3 separate regions of the Homo sapiens genome follow, and regions 1 and 3 are each linked to region 2. The links are contacts of gene promoters, found by promoter capture Hi-C in human tissues and cell types (Jung and others, 2019). All regions are on one chromosome and are shown on one strand. Each heading gives the region's core, a stretch centred on a gene start or on the middle of the fragment in contact. The rest is flanking DNA. Distances are from core to core; before and after follow the strand shown.

Region 1 (4,414 bases), core at 263-2,762, 340 kb after region 2:
GTTTTCAGCCACCACGTTTGGCTTAATTCATTACAGCAGCGACAGGAGAGTAATACCATGGGGCTGATAATCGTGTCTCCTTCCAAAGGTTCTTGCAGATTCCAGAAGTCTGAGCATGAACTGGGCAGGTTGGAATAGCCCAGGCAGCCTTTGCAGTGATTAGCCAGTCTCAGCACCAGTTCTGCCTTTGCCAGGAAGTCTTCCCGGGTTTCTCCTGGCCCACGCCCACACCTCCCCTTGTGGCTGACATCTATATGGCCTGGCACTGTGCTAAGGCTTTACACCCAGGATCCCATTTAATTCTAACGGCCACCCCGTGAGGAAGGGGCTCACAGGACACCCATATAACAGAAAGGAAACTGAGGTATGGGGAAGGTAGGAAAGATCATGGGATGGGTGGCTTTGGAGAGGCCGCGCTGGAGCCTCCCAGGCCTGATCCACCCACATCGCACACCCTTCATCGGCTTGACTTGGCCCCCAGAGGCCCTAAGAGCAGGATGCACTCCAAGACTGCAGTGTGTGCCTTTCCACGAAGAGCTTCGAAGGGCTCGCGGGGACATGCGTGGAATTTTTCTTCCACAGCGCTGCCAGAGCAAATTGGTTTCCAGGCACAGACGGGCTCCCTTCCCTTCTCCCTGCCCAGGCTACAGGCACAGACGGGCTCCCTTCCCTTCTCCCTGCCCAGGCTTGTCTCGGCCCCGCCCCTGCAGGCCTCTCCTCCTGAGGCCTGGGGCACTGGATTCCCTACATCTCACCTGCTGACCCTCCACAGCGCCCATTTCCTCCACCCCCTGCACTGCCCCTGTCTTGGCACTCGTTATTTCTCATTGCCATGAGACCTCCCACCCGGCCTCCCTGCCTCTCAGGGATCCCCATTCTAAACACGCCCAGACCTGACCACAGTCCTGCTGAAACCCATCAGGGTCTCCCATTGCTTGTAGGGGAAGGGTGGGCTCCGTGTTGTGGCTTGCGAGGACATGCGTGTTTGCCGAGCTCGTGCATCCTACCTGAGGGCCTTTGCACTTGCCACGCCCCCTGCCCCAAATGTCCTTTCTGTGGACATCCTCGTGGCTGGCACTGTCTTTCATTCATGTCTGTGCCCCATTGTCACCTCCCCCAAGAGGCCTTCCCCAGCCACCCTGTGCTTTACTCTCCTCTCAACACCACCTGAAACAACAGCATGCCATTACATATTAATTTGATTTCTTGTGCTTTCAGCCAGGGAGGGAGTCCAGCCCCATTTTACAGATGAGGAAAACTGAGGCTCAAAGAGATCAAGTGACTTGCCCCTCCTCACGCTCCAGCCACACCGGTGTTCTATCCATTCTTCAGACACATCGAGTCACTTCCCATGGTGTGGCCTTTGCATCTGCTGTTTCTCCCACCTAGAATGCTGTTCCCTCACCCCCGGCCGCCGCCGTCTTAAATGTCACCTCCTCAGGGAGACCCTCCAGGATCACCTAATCTCAAACCTGTCCTCCCCGTGCTCTGCAGCACTCCTGGCCCCTATCCTTTTGGGCCCCCTTCACCAGCCTTGATGATGCTTCCTTCCTTTGCTTGTGTGATTCGTGACTCCCTCAATCTTGCAGGGAAGAGGATCTGCCCTGGGTGTTTGGAGGGCTTCCCGCAGGGTGCTACAGGGCCTGAGCAGTTGAGGTGGAGCCTCCTGGCAGGATGCTCAGCGATGTCACAGGCCTGGGCTACCAGGGAGCTGCTGCCCCAGCCCAGGTGGGAAGCCACCTTCCAAATGAGACTCTGTCCCCATAGTGTCTGACCCCCTGCTGCAGTCCACTCGGCCCAGTGGCTGCTGCAGACCCTCTCTCCACCCGATGGACTTGGTCCTGAATTTGAGTGTGATAAATGGGTTGCTGGACCCAGAATCCATACAGAGCCCTAGCTGCAAGGGATCCTGGAAACATGGTCGTTGGCTTCTGCTGTTCAGGAAGACGGACCAGGAAGAGTGGGAGACACATGCAGCAGGCCCAGCCAGGTGTCTCCCACTCTGCCCTCCAGAGAGCTGCCTCCGTGTTGAGTCTTGTTCACTGTGGGACCCCAGGACCAACAGAAAACGTGTTTGTTGAGTGATTCAATGAGATAGCCGAGTTTGGAGGTGAACCCAGATCTGTCGGATTCGAATCTGTGGATCCTTTCCACTTTAACTTGCTAGAGGGACCTTCCCCCTGGGATTTTAGAGCCCTGTCAACTTTTCACGTGCAATGCTGGGCTTACAATAATTCTGGCAGGCACCAGAGAGGCCTGGAGGACCCTTCTGAGCCAGGGGGACCAGCAGCATTCATTTTTAAAATGAGAGATCCAGTATGACTGGCTCGGACAGGCAGAAGCCAGAGGGAACCCAGGAGGGACAAACAAGCTCAGTTCTAAGACCGCAGGTCGCACCCACTCTGGACAGGCCTTTGGGGTCTGATCTCCCCTTGGTCCAGGTCTGAGCGGGGCGGTTTGGGCCAGGGCTGCTTTAGAGTTGGATGCAGCAACAGTCACCACTGCAGTGCAGGCTCTTTCACCATCTGTGTGTGTGTCTGTGCGTGTCTGTGCCCTGGGAAGAAGGGAAGGGGCAGGGGTTGGCTTTCCAGGCCCAAGCAGAGGGTGAGGCCACCCAGGGGCTAATTCCTAACATTCTCAGGGAGGCTGAGAAGGAGAAAATGTGGGGCAAAGATGCTGGAAAGGAGACCTCCTTGAATCTCGAAAGACTCCAGAAGTGCACGCAGGGATGTCCAAAACCAGATATCCAAGCTGAAAAACAAAGCAAGAAAGCATTTTCCATCTGTAAACATTTCACACAGACATGGTCAGAGCAAGTGACCCTCTGCCTCAACCCCCATTTCCCAGGGCGTCCCCTGCACCTGCCCTTGTCACATCCTCCCCCAGCCCCCACCCAGAGGCAACCTCTGCTGTCAATTTGTCCTGTGTCCTCCCCAACCTCTCCCTGGCTCCTGCCATATGTCCCTCCCTGAACTGCCCACTCCATCCACTGTTCTCACACGGGGCTCTTTGCTGTTCCAGGAATACACCAGGCACATTCCCACCCCAGGGCCTTTGCACTGGTGGTTCCCTCTGCCTGTTGTGCTTTCTCCCAGATACTTCCCTGACCTCCCACACCTGTGCACACTACCTTCCTTTCCTGATTTATTCATTATCTTTTTGAGACTGAGTCTCGCTCTGTCACCCAGGCTGGAGTGCAGTGATGCGATCGTGGCTCACTGCAACCTCTGCCTCCCGGGTTCAAGCGATTCACCTTCCTCAGCCTCCCAAGTAGCTGGGATTTCAGGCACCTACTACCATGCCCAGCTAATTTTTGTATTTTTGGTAGAGAGGTGGTTTCACCATGTTGGCCGGGCTGGTCTCGAACTCCTGACCTCAGGTGATCCACCCACCTTGGCCTCCCAAGGTGCTGGGATTCCAGGAGTGAGTCACAGTGCCTGGCCTTCCTTTCTGGATTTATTTCTTGCAGAGCACTTACCACCTTCTCATCCAGGGAATGATATATTTATTGAGTTTTAATTATGCATCCCTCTCTTTAGAATGTCAGCTCCACGGAGGCAGAGACTGCCTATCTCATTCACTGCTATATCTCACACACCTAGTGTGGTGCCTCGCACACAGTGGGCACGCCTGAATTAATCTCCTTGCAGAAGTCTTCATGCATATAAGATATGGAATCAATCTAAGTGTCCATCAATGAAGGATTGAATAAAGAAAGTGTGGTACCTATACACCATGGATCACTATTTAGTTATAAGAAAGAATGAAATCCTGTCTTTTGCAGCAATGTGGATAGAACTGGAGTCCATTATCCTAAGCGAAACGACTCAGACACAGAAAGACAAATACTGGCCGGGCGCAGTGGGCCATGCCTGGAATCCCAGGCACTTTCGGAGGCCAAGGCGGGCAGATTGGTTGAGGCCAGGAGTTCGAGACCAGCCTGGCCAACATGGTGAAACCCGTCTCTACTAAAAATACAAAAATTAGCTGGGCATGGTGGTGTCCCAGCTACTTGGGAGGCTGAGGCGGGAGAATCACTTGAACCTGGGAGGTGGAGGTTGCAGTGAGCCAAGATCACGCCACTGAACTTCCAGCCTGAGTGACAGAGCGAGATTCTGTCTCAAAAAAAAAAAAAAAAAAAAAAAAGCAAATACTGCATGTTTTCACTTACAAGTGGGAGCTAAATAATGTGTACACATGGAAGCAGAGTGTGGAATGATGGAATTGGAGACCGAGAGGCGTGGGGACATGGGAGGGGGTTAGATGGCGGGAGGTTGCTTGGTGGACATAAGGCGCATGGCTCCCATGATGGGTGCATCCTAACACTTTGCCTTCACCACAGTGCAATATAACAATGTAGCAACATTGCACTTGTACCCCATTAATATATGCCAAAAAGTATCATGCATAGCCC
Region 2 (4,368 bases), core at 1,869-4,368:
AACAGGAAGAAGAACACATTCCCCAGGTTTTTTTTTTTTACTTCCTGTTTGCCAGGCCTCTAACCTGCAGGCGTCCTTGACAACCTTTTATGGTTATATAAGCGATGACAAAGCAAGGCAAACCCTTCCCACCACCTCTCTGATTCCACCCTTTTTCTTGGGGGAAGCAAGTTTGTTGACCCTCACTCATGCTCTCAGACAGTTTCATGGGGCTGGATTAAGTCACATACAAGGTGGTGAATTTCAGAAGGGGGAACTGAATCCTTAGGGGGAGGGGAAAAACGAAGGCGGAGGAGCAGGCGCTGATCCAACCCCGCCCTCCCCAGCTGCAGCCCAGCACCCCGGCCCTTTGTGAGCTCAGCTCATCACACGCTCCCTTCCGCCTGCCAATCCCGCCCTGTTGCTGGGCCTCTGTCCCTTCTCCATTGGTGCCAGCTCTGAAGCAATCTTTTCTGGGGCGCCTGCAAAGGACGGATCTGTGGGTGGAACGAACTGAAAACGGATCCAGTGACTCATCCCGATTCTTGCACATTCTAGCACATCGCATTCTAGGTCAGCAGGGTTTAGGTTTTAAGAGCGTGACTTGATACCTGACTCCTGAGTCCAAGTGGGACATTTAGACTTTGGGAACCCTTTCGGAAAACAGAAAAGCAGTTGTTGCAACAACAAAAATCCTTTGTAGGACAGGGTTTCTTAATTTCAGCACTATTAATATGTTGGGTCTGATAATTCTTTGTTGTGGGGGACTGTCCCTCATAGAATGTTCAGTGGCATCCCTGGTGTCTACCAACAGTGCTAGTATTAGTAGTAGCATCCCCTAACCTCCCCTGAGTTGTGACAACCAAGAATATCTCCAGATATTGCCAAATGTCCCCTGAAAGAGCAAATCACTCCTTGTTGAGAACCATTGTTGTAGAGAAACATCAGACACCTGCGTTTTGGGAGGCCATTTTCTTCCCTGTCACCTCAGTGACTTTGGAGAAAGGTTTATTTCTGTTTGCTTCAATAACCATTTAAGTCAGGGAATGCTGGGATGTTTTCAATAATTTTTTTCTGCTAGAGACAACATTGGTTTCTCTTTGCAGCTAACCTTTGGCCCATTACCCACCCTACCCTCATCCCCTCTTCTTCCTTTTTCCTCCTCCTGTCCTCCTCTCCCGCCCCTGCCTCTGCAGTTAGGGCTGTTTTTTCTCTGTACCTTTTGGACTCTGAAAAAAGCTATGTCACAAAGCTGGTGACTCAGCCTTTAAACAACATGAATCACAAGGCTTGCAGCAGAGTAACAGCCAAAAGCAACCAGGGCGTGGTTGAAAGCCAGGCCTGGTCACCTCAGAAAGAATCTCAGCTTTTTAATCCCTTCAAAACTCCTTCCCGAAATGTAGGGGAAAAACAAAAAACAAAAACTTTGCAGAAATGTGTATTGGAAATCACTGGGGTATCCTGCCAATCCTGGAAAATGACACTTTTATTATTCGTTTTAATTTCCCAGTAACACATGAATTCATTCTCTTTAAAATGTTAAAAATTGGAGATGTCAAAGTCTGTTTTGAACAATGCACAGATCTTGGATTTTCATAAATACACAGAAACATGGGTTACCATAGAAAATATATAGCAGGTTCATTTTGCTTTGATGCATATTTTAAGTCTGCCGTTTAAATAATGTAATGTTCATAACTTAAAACAAGAATGCAGCCTTTTCCTAATGGCAAAATATTTTTCAGTTGGTAGCCTCTTTTTCTCTTTTTTTTGAAGCTTTTAAGGGTAGAAATCAAAATAGCCTCCCTACCTCCAATACATTTGTAGAAACAGGGACTATTTGTAGAAGAGTCCAGAAGGAACAGTGGCTGGGAAATTGAGGGCATGAGGGAGACTTTTCACTGTACACTTTAAAAAGACACATTTAAAAAATCTCACCATGTTCGTATATTTTAAAACATTTAAAAAATATACTGAAGAAATGACACGTAGGGATCACAAAATAGGTTGTGGTAAAAATTTAAAAAGCTGGCTGGTGATGCTTTTCTCCCCACTTCTTTTACCAAAATAGAATTGCCCTGTAGAATTACATTTCATATTTGACACCCTACCCTGCACTGAAATAAGGTTGGGATTCTATTCCTGTCTTTTAAAATCTCCGGTTTAAATGGGTCCGATTATTGAATGGATCCTGCTTACAATAATCGTACCCATTGAAACCAGAGAAATTTCCATGCCTCCCTGTTGGCATCAAGTAGGACCTTTCCATACCTGGCCCTCAGAATGTACAGGAAGGTGGAAGAACAGTCTAGAAGGATGTCGTTCGCTCAGCCTTGCGTTCCAGCTAAAATAAAACTGTGTGGGGTTTCCGCCTCTTTTTTCCAAATTTAACCTGGACACCCAGCTCCTCTGCAGTGTCTCCCCTGGAAAGTTCTCGAGCGTTCCCCAGCTTTAGGGCCACGCCCGCCCTGAGATCTGCCGAGTCATTGTCCTTGTCCCGCGGCCCCGGGAGCCCCCCGCGACCGGCCTGGGAGGCTCAGGGAGGTTGAAGGGGGCTGAGCAAAGGAAGCCCCGTCATTACCTCAAATGTGACCCAAAAATAAAGACCCGTCCATCTCGCAGGGTGGGCCAGGGCGGGTCAGGAGGGAGGGGAGGGAGACCCCGACTCTGCAGAAGGCGCTCGCTGCGTGCCCCACGTCCGCCGAACGCGGGGTTCGCGACCCGAGGGGACCGCGGGGGCTGAGGGGAGGGGCCGCGGAGCCGCGGCTAAGGAACGCGGGCCGCCCACCCGCTCCCGGTGCAGCGGCCTCCGCGCCGGGTTTTGGCGCCTCCCGCGGGCGCCCCCCTCCTCACGGCGAGCGCTGCCACGTCAGACGAAGGGCGCAGCGAGCGTCCTGATCCTTCCGCCCGGACGCTCAGGACAGCGGCCCGCTGCTCATAAGACTCGGCCTTAGAACCCCAGTATCAGCAGAAGGACATTTTAGGACGGGACTTGGGTGACTCTAGGGCACTGGTTTTCTTTCCAGAGAGCGGAACAGGCGAGGAAAAGTAGTCCCTTCTCGGCGATTCTGCGGAGGGATCTCCGTGGGGCGGTGAACGCCGATGATTATATAAGGACGCGCCGGGTGTGGCACAGCTAGTTCCGTCGCAGCCGGGATTTGGGTCGCAGTTCTTGTTTGTGGATCGCTGTGATCGTCACTTGGTGAGTAGCGGGCTGCTGGGCTGGCCGGGGCTTTCGTGGCCGCCGGGCCGCTCGGTGGGACGGAGGCGTGTGGAGAGACCGCCAAGGGCTGTAGTCTGGGTCCGCGAGCAAGGTTGCCCTGAACTGGGGGTTGGGGGGAGCGCAGCAAAATGGCGGCTGTTCCCGAGTCTTGAATGGAAGACGCTTGTGAGGCGGGCTGTGAGGTCGTTGAAACAAGGTGGGGGGCATGGTGGGCGGCAAGAACCCAAGGTCTTGAGGCCTTCGCTAATGCGGGAAAGCTCTTATTCGGGTGAGATGGGCTGGGGCACCATCTGGGGACCCTGACGTGAAGTTTGTCACTGACTGGAGAACTCGGTTTGTCGTCTGTTGCGGGGGCGGCAGTTATGGCGGTGCCGTTGGGCAGTGCACCCGTACCTTTGGGAGCGCGCGCCCTCGTCGTGTCGTGACGTCACCCGTTCTGTTGGCTTATAATGCAGGGTGGGGCCACCTGCCGGTAGGTGTGCGGTAGGCTTTTCTCCGTCGCAGGACGCAGGGTTCGGGCCTAGGGTAGGCTCTCCTGAATCGACAGGCGCCGGACCTCTGGTGAGGGGAGGGATAAGTGAGGCGTCAGTTTCTCTGGTCGGTTTTATGTACCTATCTTCTTAAGTAGCTGAAGCTCCGGTTTTGAACTATGCGCTCGGGGTTGGCGAGTGTGTTTTGTGAAGTTTTTTAGGCACCTTTTGAAATGTAATCATTTGGGTCAATATGTAATTTTCAGTGTTAGACTAGTAAATTGTCCGCTAAATTCTGGCCGTTTTTGGCTTTTTTGTTAGACAATGCAGATCTTCGTGAAGACTCTGACTGGTAAGACCATCACCCTCGAGGTTGAGCCCAGTGACACCATCGAGAATGTCAAGGCAAAGATCCAAGATAAGGAAGGCATCCCTCCTGACCAGCAGAGGCTGATCTTTGCTGGAAAACAGCTGGAAGATGGGCGCACCCTGTCTGACTACAACATCCAGAAAGAGTCCACCCTGCACCTGGTGCTCCGTCTCAGAGGTGGGATGCAAATCTTCGTGAAGACACTCACTGGCAAGACCATCACCCTTGAGGTCGAGCCCAGTGACACCATCGAGAACGTCAAAGCAAAGATCCAGGACAAGGAAGGCATTCCTCCTGACCAGCAGAGGTTGATCTTTGCCGGAAAG
Region 3 (4,431 bases), core at 1,085-3,584, 430 kb after region 2:
TTATCAACGCACCCACCTGGCATTGTCTCTGATTCTCTTTGCAAAAATAACTGCCTTGTTGAAAAAGCCAGACAACAAAAGAGTGACTAGATTTTTATGGAAAATTGGGAAAATTAAAAAAAGGTGCCAAGAAGAGACGAAGTCCCTTGTAATCCCACTCTCTAAAGCCTTACCTGTCAGACATCACTAACTGATTGCCGCAAACAGCCTCACTGAGTGTTCCAGGCAGACAGAACTAATCTATTGGAATTGGTGCGTAAGTGAAGCCTGTCTTGTTTTTGTTTGAGAGGCTTGTTACTGTCTTTTTTTTTTTTTTTTTTTTAAACACAGTTTAATGTTTCTCAAATCTGGGTGTACTTGGCAATTGGTATACATCTAATTTGTTGATATTGAGTTTTACCCCCTATGATAATGGATAATGTGTTAAAGAAACAAGTATTTGGACTCTTGTTAAGCAGGAAGACCGTACAGGACAATTGTGCTATCAGCGTCAAGACTGTCACGATAAGGGAGAGAGACCAGGCTCAGCGCCAAATACGGCCAAGACAGCTGGGGCCTCATAGCCTAGCCGCAGGGCGGAGGGAGGGGTCGGTGGATGGAAAATTACTAAGAGGAGCGCTTGAGGGTGGGGGGTTCCTCTAGACTGACTTAGCAGGATGCCTGCAGCTGGGCAGAGCCCCGCAAGGCCAAGGCCAAGGCCGAGGCCCCGTAGAGAGAGGATGGGTCAGAGGAGCTTGACTCAGGTGTGGGCAAGGAGAGTCTTTGTCAAATGGACGACGGTGTGTTATTAAAGGAGGAAGGTCTGCCTAAGGCTTACCCTTCTGGCTGTGATACGAGCGGGGAGTTCCTCTTTTACAGGGCGGCCTTGGGGTCAGGGGTCGCTTTGTTCTGAAACCTGGTCTTTGGGCCTCGCTGGCTGTCGGGTGTTTGTCGCCATCACTTGCCACCATCCATCCTTCTCCTGGCGAGTGAGGCCCGAGCCTCGTTCCCTCGCGTGGGCATCACTTACCCACCCTGCCAAGAGCTGGGCATCTAGGTTGGGCCTTTTCCCAGTTGTTGCTGCAAATGCATTTCTGTTTTTACAAATAATGCTGCCCCGTATGCACCTTCAGTCCTGTCTTCCCAGGCCTGCATTTCCAAGCTTCAGCTCCTCAGGCTGGAGGGACCCACAGCCTGGCAGGGGTAGGATGGGGTGGGAGGGTAGAAAAGCGAAGACAGCTTCCTCTACTCTGGCCCCCCAGTCAACGCCAGCATGGCCGGCAGACAGAGGCCATGGTTAGGATGGTTCCAGGCCTGTATTAGCCTGTGGCCTCAGACAGCCCCATCAGACCTCCCAGGCTTGGCAGTCTCATTTGGAAGGTGGGCGTGATCGTGGGTCCCTGGGATGCTGTGTGGGAAGGATGCAGCCCAGGGCCGTTCAGCTGTGTTCTTTCTCCTCCTTGGTGTTCGGCCCCAAGGGTAGCCTCTGGCCAGACGGTCCCTGAGGTTCCCTGCAGGACTTGGGCTTATCTGCCTAGGGCAGGAGCGAGCCTGAGCAGGGAGTCCACGGCCTTGCCCACTGTGCCCTGCCGTGCCCCGCCATGCCCGTGCCCGCCCACGCTCACCACTCCTCTGTCCCCTCCTGCAGGACGTCGGGCTCCTGGAGTACCAGCACCACTCCCGCGACTATGCCTCCCACCTGTCGCCCGGCTCCATCATCCAGCCCCAGCGGCGGAGGCCCTCCCTGCTGTCTGAGTTCCAGCCCGGGAATGAACGGTGAGGAGAGAGTTGCTGCCTCCCTGTCCAGGGCGTGAGAGCTCCTTCTCAGATGGAGAAGCAGAGGCCCGTGGCAGAGCAGGAGCACACAGGGTCCTGTGAAATGAGGGGATGTCGGGCCGTGTGTTCACCCTTGACCTGGCGTGGGCGTGACTCGGGGTGAGGATGGGACGAGCAGGGAAGAGCCACGTGGCCCTCAGACTTCCAGCGTGGAACTTCAGTGGCCTCTGTGGGTTTAGGCAGCAGTGGGGACCTCCAAGCTGGGCTGCAGCAGGGCTGGGCTTCTGTGGGAAGATTTGAGTCCACACCTGGTGCCCCTGGGGCCCCTGCCCTCTCCTCCCATTCTTCCTTCTTCTCCAGCTGGCAGAGGACACCCTCTGGTGTGTGCCTGTGCTGGGCCAGCCTTACTTTCCTTGATCCAGGTGGGAAGGGAATGAACAGGTTAGGTGGTAGGGTGAGAGGGAGGTGGGGAGTGGGAGGGAGGTGGGGTGGGGAGCTGGAGGGACTACAGCAAGGGGAGGGCCAGGGCTGGGTCAGAGCCAGCTCTCCATGCATTCACTTGGGATCGGTAGGCCACGTTCTTTCTCCCATCTTCTCTAGGAGCTTCTGCTGGAGACGGCTGAGGTGTGGGGAATTGTGCCTATTTCTCAGATGGGGCAGCTGAGGCTGCGAGGTTGAGGGATGGGCTCTTGTTTACTCAGCCAGGACTAGAAGTCGAGGCACCAGGCCCCAGCCCTTCATGGTACCACGGAGGTGTCCCAGGGCCCCAGATCAGGCGGGGCTGGTGAACTCAGGTGGGCGCAGGCGTCTGGAGGAGGGGAGGCCGAGGCAGCGTGCCTTCTGTACCTGGATTGGTTTCCTGGGCCTGCCGTCGCAACGTGCCACAAACTGGGCGGCTTCAAGCCACAGAAGTGCATTCCCGTGATCTGAAGTCAGGGCGTCCGCAGGGCCGCGCCCCCTCAGAAGGCTCAAGGGGAGGATGCTTTTCTGTCTCCTCCAGCTTCTGGGGGCTACAGGCGTTCCTCAGCTGTGGCTGCATCGGTCCAATCTCTGCCTCTGCCTCTGCCTCTGTCTCACGTGGCCATTTCCTTGTCTGTCTCTGTGTTCTCTTGTTGTGTTACAAGGATCCCAGTGATCCTAATCCAGGATGGCCTCATCTTAGCTTAATTCCATCTGCAATGACCCTAGGTCCAAAGAAGGTCTTATTTTGAGGTTCCAGTGGCTGTGCATTTTGGGAGGATGTTATATTTGGAGGTTCCAGTGGCCGTGGATTTTGGGAGGACATTATTTGAGCCACTGCAGTGCCACTATCATGTTTAAGAGAAAACACCATGCGCTTCCTGCCAAGCCCCATGTAATGGTGAAGCCCTGGGTTCTGGGCCTTGAAGAGGGGGATGTCTTGGGGCCCAGCTTTGGAGGGACAAGGACTTGAGGGCCCTCCAGGGAGGTGAGCACAGAGGGGTGGCTGCCCCGCTCCCCGGGGGGGCCAGCAACACGGCCCCAGCCCGTGCTGCAGTGGGCAGCATTCAGTCAGTCTACAGGCACTGATTGAACACCTACTGTGCGCCAGTACCTGGGGACAGCCATGAACAAGACAGGTGAACCACCCTGCGTTCATTCATGGGTGGGGGAGGTGGCCAGGAAACACCTGTTGTCACCAAGCGCGTGGGAGGGCAGTGGAGAGAGAGCAGACAGGCGGGTGTAGTGTGGTCTGGCCTGGGACAAGGAGGCGCCATCTGCACCATGACAGGAAGGGGAGGAGCTCACATGGAGGGCCTGAGGTCTCAGTGCTCCAGGCAGAGCCCAGCAGGTGCAAAGGCCCTGGGGCAGGAGTGCAGTGGCGGGACAGCGAGGGCCAGGCCAGGCAGGGCTTGTGCAGGAGGGGAACAGCTGTGGATTCCCTGCTTAGCCTCTGGGAAAAGCATTTCAGCAAGGCCCATATTCAGGCTCTTTCTGGTGGGTGATGGTTGGAGCCTCAGAGGTGGAGGCCAGGAGTCCCAGCTCCGTGGGGTGTGCTTAGTTAGGCAAGGCCATGCCCTCTCTAGGCACACTGCGGAGGAGGGTTCAGGAGAGCCAGTCGCTGGGGAAACTGGGCAGCTCCAGTCTCTGCACCAGGCTGCTAGGCTGAGTTGAGAAGGTGGTTAGGCCAGGTTCAGCAGCAAGAGTTCTGCGATCGGCCAGCGATGTCTGCCCTGCGTGGGTGAGAGGGAAATGGCATCACGGGTGCTGTTATCTGTGTTAGGCTCACAGCGTTTCCCGGATGGACTGTGCCTGTGAACCACCCAATGATCTTGTTAAAATGCCGAGTCTGACTCAGTAGGCCTCAGATGGTACTGGAGATTCTGCATTGTAGCCAGCCCCAGGTGGGGACGGTGGGGTGGTCCGTAGCAAGGGAGGGGCAGTCACTCTGGGGTGTTCCAGTGCCACCGTAGCACACTCCCTCCCTGTAAATGTCCTCGGTGAATGTGGACCTGAAGGAAGGCAGCGCTGCATTGGAGTCCTGCCCTGCTGTGGGACCGTGGGAGGTGGGCTCCTGTGAGCACCTTCCTGGCAGGATCATACAGAGCACGGCGCGCAGTAGATGCTCGGCGCAGAGGGTGGTCGGGGCCTCGGGAGTTCTCAGAGCCGCAATCTCCTATGTGACGTTGGATGCCTCACCTCCTGCAGGTCCCAGGA

The links. Contacts are between HindIII fragments. The study calls those that stand out against the background at their distance.
Region 1: a contact is called between a fragment that was not itself captured here and the fragment with the promoter of UBC in region 2, in 1 of the 25 tissues and cell types used here (hippocampus).
Region 3: a fragment that was not itself captured here is called in contact with the fragment with the promoter of UBC in region 2 in 1 of the 25 tissues and cell types used here (lymphoblastoid cells).

Annotation. Positions count from the first base shown.
Region 1 is chr12:124,574,455-124,578,868 of GRCh38, reverse strand. No RefSeq gene overlaps it. Among named protein-coding and RNA genes, the nearest start is that of NCOR2, 9.0 kb to the right of the region's middle. The HindIII fragment of the contact is 3,701 bases long and covers 1-3,362 here.
Region 2 is chr12:124,913,400-124,917,767 of GRCh38, reverse strand. It overlaps UBC (ubiquitin C), which reads left to right and starts at 3,118. Exons shown (of 2, transcript NM_021009.7): 1 at 3,118-3,181; 2 at 3,994-4,368. The coding sequence starts at 3,997. It overlaps MIR5188 (microRNA 5188), which reads right to left and starts at 2,221; the gene lies at 2,109-2,221. RefSeq lists enhancers at 1-151, 362-631, 1,131-1,425, 3,090-3,539, 2,864-3,821 and 2 more and silencers at 1,122-1,181, 2,540-2,879. The HindIII fragment of the contact is 8,951 bases long and covers 1-4,368 here.
Region 3 is chr12:124,483,765-124,488,195 of GRCh38, reverse strand. NCOR2 (nuclear receptor corepressor 2) reads left to right here. Exons shown (of 49, transcript NM_006312.6): 4 at 1,628-1,755; 5 at 4,423-4,431. Among named protein-coding and RNA genes, the nearest start is that of NCOR2, 82 kb to the left of the region's middle. The HindIII fragment of the contact is 9,163 bases long and covers 1-4,431 here.